Regions from separate parts of the Homo sapiens genome. Here region 1 is linked to region 2. The links are contacts of gene promoters, found by promoter capture Hi-C in human tissues and cell types (Jung and others, 2019). All regions are on one chromosome and are shown on one strand. Each heading gives the region's core, a stretch centred on a gene start or on the middle of the fragment in contact. The rest is flanking DNA. Distances are from core to core; before and after follow the strand shown.

Evidence for each region. Contacts are between HindIII fragments. The study calls those that stand out against the background at their distance.
Region 1: a contact is called between a fragment that was not itself captured here and the fragment with the promoter of CNGA3 in region 2, in 3 of the 25 tissues and cell types used here (heart left ventricle, heart right ventricle and thymus).

What each region holds. Positions count from the first base shown.
Region 1 is chr2:97,872,065-97,874,764 of GRCh38, forward strand. All of the region lies in intron 4 of TMEM131 (transmembrane protein 131), which reads right to left. Among named protein-coding and RNA genes, the nearest start is that of TMEM131, 120 kb to the right of the region's middle. The HindIII fragment of the contact is 4,393 bases long and covers 1-2,700 here.
Region 2 is chr2:98,345,020-98,347,719 of GRCh38, forward strand. CNGA3 (cyclic nucleotide gated channel subunit alpha 3) reads left to right here and starts at 1,437. Exons shown (of 8, transcript NM_001298.3): 1 at 1,437-1,515. RefSeq lists an enhancer at 1,937-2,448. The HindIII fragment of the contact is 6,521 bases long and covers 1-2,700 here.

The sequences.
Region 1 (2,700 bases), core at 48-2,547, 470 kb before region 2:
AGAGAGAATACAGGTAGGCTTAAAGAATAAATTTAAACAAAAAGTCTGAAAACAAAGAAAGCTAATTTGATCTGTTTATTGTGAAACAAATTCTACAGGAGAGTAGGAATGATCAGGGTAATGACAGGAGTCAGCACTGGGGTCAAGAAAGAAGCAAGGGAAATTCTAGATGCACCCTTCCTGAAGGGCCTGATACTTTTTAGAAGATGCCATGAGTTAGAAAGACTCTAACTCCATTTTTGATATTCAACTGTTGATAGTTTTCAAGCCCCAATGATGCCCCTTTACCTTTAGCCCCAAACCTGGGCAAGCCAATCAAAAAGCCCTTCTCTCTCGGAGCTAGTGAGAAGTTCCAATCATGCAAACCCACTCCAGCCTTGCTCCCCAACCGCAATAAAAACCAATTGCTGGCAAGATGGCCGAACAGGAACAGCTCCAGTCTGCGGCTCCCAGCGAGATGGATGCAGAAGGCGGGTGACTTCTACATTTCCAACTGGGACTGGTTAGACAGTGGGTACAGCCCACGGAGGGCGAGCCGAAGCAGGGTGGGGCATCACCTCATCTGTGAAGCACAAGGGGTCAGGGAATTTTCTCTTCTACCCAAAGGAAGCTGTCAGGGACTGAACCTGAGGAACTCTGGCACAGATACTGCGCTTGTCCCATGGTCTCTGCAAGCTGCAAACCAGGAGATTCCCTCCGGTGCCTACCCCACCAGGGCCCTGGGTTTCAAGCACAAAACTGGGCGGCCGTTTGGGCAGTCACCGAACTAACTTCATGAGTTCTTTTTTTTCCATACCCCATTGGCACCTGGAACACCAGCAAGACAGAACCATTCACTCCCCTGGAAAGGGGTGCTGAAGCCAGGGACCCAAGTGGCCTGGCTCAGTGGGTCCCACCCCCATGGAGCCCAGCAAACTAAGATTCACTGGCTTGAAGTTCTCGCTGCCAGCACAGAAGCAGTCTGAGGTCAACCTGTGACAATGGAGCTTGGTGGGGGGAGGGGCGTCCGCCATTGCTAAGGCTTGAGTAGGTGGTTTTACAATCACAGTGTAAACAAAGTCACAAGTCACGGGGAAGTTCGAACTGGGCAGAGCCCACTGCAGCTCAGCACGGCCGCTGTGGCCAGACTGCCAGATTTCTCTTCTCTGGGCAGGGCATCTCTGAAAAAAAGGCAGCAGCCCCAGTCAGGGACTTATAGATAAATCCCCAGCTCCCTGGGACAGAGCACCTGGGGAAAGGGGCAGCTGTGGCCGAAGCTTCAGCAGACTTAAACATCCCTGCCTGGCAGCTCTGAAGAGAGCAGTGGACCTCCCAGCACAGCGTTCGAGCTCTGCTGAAGGTCAGACTGCCTCCTCAAGTGGGTCCCTGACCGCCGTGTATCCTCACTGGGAGAAAACTCCCAGTAGGGGCCAACAGACACCTCATACAGGAGAGCTCTAGCTGGCATTTGGCAGGTGCCCCTCTGGGAAGAAGCTTCCAGAGGAATGATCAGGCAGCAATCTTTGCTGTTCTGCAGCCTCCGCTGCTGATACCAAGGCAAACAGCGTCGGGAGTGGACCTCCAGCAAACTCCAGCAGACCAGCAGCAGAGGAGCCTGTCAGAAGGAAAACTAACAGAAAGGAATAGCACGTCCACTCAAAGATGCCATCCAAAGGTCACCAACATCAAAGACCAAAGGTAGATAAATCCAAAGATGGGGATAAACCAGCACAAAAAGGCTGAAAATTCCAAAAATCAGAAGGTCTCTTCTCCTCCAAAGATCACAACTCCTCGCCAGCAAGGGAACAAAACTGGATGGAGAATGAGTTTGACGAACTGACAGAAGTAGGTTTCAGAAGGTGGGTAATAACAAACTCCTCCAAGCTAAAGAAGTATGTTCTAATCCAATGCAAGGAAGCCAAGAACTTTGAAAAAAAGGTTAGACAAATTGTTAACTAGAATAACCAGTGTAGAGAAGAACATAAATGACCCGATGGAGCTGAAAAATACAGCACGAGAACTTTGTGAAGCATACACAAGTTTCAACAGCCGAATTGGTCAAGTGGAAGAAAGGATATCAGTGATTGAAGATCAACTTAATGAAATAAAGAGCAAAGACAAGATTAGAGAAAAAGGAATAAAAAGGAATGAACAAAGCCTCCAAGAAATATGGGACTATGTGAAAAGACCAAATCTACGTTTGATTGGTGTACCTGAAAGTGACAAGGAGAATGGAACCAAGCTAGAAAACACTCTTCAGGATATTATCCAGGAGAACTTCTCCAATCTAGCAAGACAGGCCAACATTCAAATTCAGGAAATACAGAGAACAGCACAACAACACTCCTCGAGAAGAGCAACCCTAAGACACATAATCGTCAGATTCACCAAGGTTGAAATGAAGGAAAAAATGTTAAGCGCAGCCAGAGAGAAAGGTTGGGTTACCCACAAAGGGAAGCCCATCAGACTAACAGCGGATCTCTCTGCAGAAACTCTACTAGCCAGAAGAGAGTGAGGCCCAATATTCAACATCCTTAAAGAAAAGAATTTTCAACCCAGAATTTCATATCCAGCCAAACTAAGCTTCATAAGTGAAGGAGAAATAAAATCCTTTACAGACAAGCAAATGCTGAGATATTCTGTCACCACCAGGCCTGCCTTACAAGAGCTCCTGAAGGAAGCACTAAATATGGACAGGAACAACCAGTAGCATCCACTGTA
Region 2 (2,700 bases), core at 187-2,686:
GCTTTAACTTGTTGCATAAATTAATGAGATTAGAAGAAATAAAGCATTTCCTGACAATGAGAACTATAAAAAAAATGCACATAACAACTGAGGCACGTGGAGATTCATAATTGAGGCACGTGGAGATTCCCTGGAATAAGAATACTGAAGTCCTCAATGAGGCAAAGTCTCATCTATTATATTTTCTCTTGAAATTATTATAATTTCAGGTTCCTTTCAGAAGCCCAAGTAATAAAATAAGAATTCTCCTCTCTTCCAACTTCTGTGGCTTTGGCTTCCTTTTGTTGATTCACCACTTCCATTTATTTGCTCTTCCACTACCAGAGTCCCTTGAATCTGAACGACTAAGCCTGATTTTCTTTGGGGGAAAATTTGTCTAGGTTTTACTTCCCCCCTTTAAGACATGACATGTGTGCACACATGCACATGTGTGTGTGAGCCATTCTAATTCTTTATTTCTTCAGTGAAAAACATACACTTCATCTCTCCCTTCAAGTATTGCATGAACTCGATGAACTTAAGCCTTCTAAAGATAATGTGTTCAATTAACAGGCGATTTGATAAGTATGCTAGGAAATGCCATGTACTCCAAGTCCTCAGAGAAGCTCTGGTTAGCTGGCTGCGGTGGGATCTGCTTTTGTGGAGTTTCTTCCCATGAGGGTATCAGTCAAGAGAACCTGGAACCCAAGAGGCTTGTCCCAGGCAAGGAGGCTTGGATTCCTCCCGGGACCTGCTCCTGCGATCCAGAACCAGAGCATGCAATTGCTGGTGAGGGAAAGGCAGGATTCGGTCTTCATCCTTCATGGAGAGGTGTGTTCTTGGAAGTACACCTTCTGGGAGGAAAATGAGTTTTAGTAAATAAAGTTATTTTCTCCAAAAAGAGTTTAAGTTCCTTGGGCTTCAATAGGGGTTAAATAATTACTAGCTGGATTGGTGGTTTTAATTTTTAGTTCAGGAAATCCGATGTTATCTGATGTGATGGAAGGAAACAAAAACTCTGCAAGGAGAATACACATTGTCCCAAAGAGAAACTTGTTTCTAACATCTTCCCTAAGATGGCAAACGGGTCCAAGACTTTGTGCGTGTGTGTGTGTGTGTGTCCCCACCTTTAAACTTCAAACCCCAGATCTCTGTTGCTTACTCATCCAGTGTGGATTACACTACCAGCAAAACATCCCAGGAAGGAGTCCAGGGTGGCCGCCCACAGTTAGGAGAGAACCCAGAACGGAACGACGGACTTGTTTGCTTTCTTGCCCCTGACTCTCCCCGTCCTCCCTGGGAGGGTTGGGGATGTGAACTAATGACTTCTGCCTCTTTCGGACCGCCTTTGAGGCTCCAGAGCCTCACCTTACTTTCCCACGGAGAGGGAGGCCACAGGCTCCTTCAGCAGTCGCCGAGCAGAGTCCTGGGCCGGGAGCGCGGGGGAGGGAGCGAGCGGAACTGCGCCTAGGAGGCCGAGGGAGGAGGCGCTCCGCAGACCCTGGCGCGCCGCGGAGAAGCTCAAACTTTGGCAGGGTAAGGATTTTTAGGGGCTCTTGAGCTGGAATTTTTTGGGGGGCGCCGGGAGGTGTGCTGGGGCCGCAGACCCCATACAGGAGGTAAGTTAGAGAACCACACGCAGGGGAGGGATGCTGCTGCTTCCAGGGGCGGGCGCGGCGCTGTCCGCAGCCCCCGGTGCTGAAACGGGCCGCGGGCTGGAGAGAAAGTGAAAAAGGATCGGCTACGGCCTCGGCTCCCACTCCCCGGCTCCCATACCCCTCCAGTCCAGTTCAAAGGACAGGAAGCCCTCCCCGTGCTCCCCAAGCCGATCGCACCCCCTTTTACTCACGTCCCACAGCCGCGCTGGGCCGAGCCCGCTGAGCCGTCGGGGCGGGAGGCAGAAGGAGCAGGGCTGGCTCCCGCTGGGGACGGGTAGGGCTTGCAGCCGCGACCCCACCCCATACATTTCCTCCTGTCACGCTGTCCCCGGACCGCCAGTCCGGGAAGGACCCACTTCCCCGGCTCCAAGTCGGGAGCGGGCGCCGCGTCTTCTCGAGTCCGCGCCGCGCCGGGGGAGGTTGAGTCAGTGGCCTGGAGGGAGCAGGGCCGGGGGAAGGCAGCGGCGAAGGACTGCCCCCCAACCCAGGGGACTATTTTCCCTTGGGGATTCAAAGAGAAAGGTAGGCTGAGGAGGAGGCGAGAATTAAAATTCTTTTAGGAGTGCGCGGTTACTTTTTTTAATGATAAAATCACACCCGGGATCTCGGACGCCCGGGGCTTAGTGCTCGGTGATGGAGGAGAAGGGGCGGCGGGCTCTCTGATCCTCTGCAATCCCCTAACCGGATAAAGGCGCCGGGCTCCCAGCCGTCAGGCTTTTCTCTTTAGCTCAGCCCGCGGCCCCTCCCGACGCCCCTGGGGGCCTTGGCGCGCAGGCCCTCGCAGTCCCGCAACCCCGGGCCGGGTGATTCATTTTTCTCCCTGTGTAATCTCCCTACTGAGCGGCGCAGCTGGGACTTTAACTTCGGCCCTCTGCAGCGGGGGTCTCCGGTTGGCGCGGCGCGTGAGGGAGGATGAATGGCGCTGGAACCTAGAGGACCTGGAGCCGGCGCCCCGGCCTCTTTGGCCTGAACCAGGTGCCTCTGACACGCAGTCCGCCGGCTCAGGCCTCGCCGGAAGCTGGCGGGAGCAGTCCCTTGCAGCGAAGCCCGGCACCCCGACGGC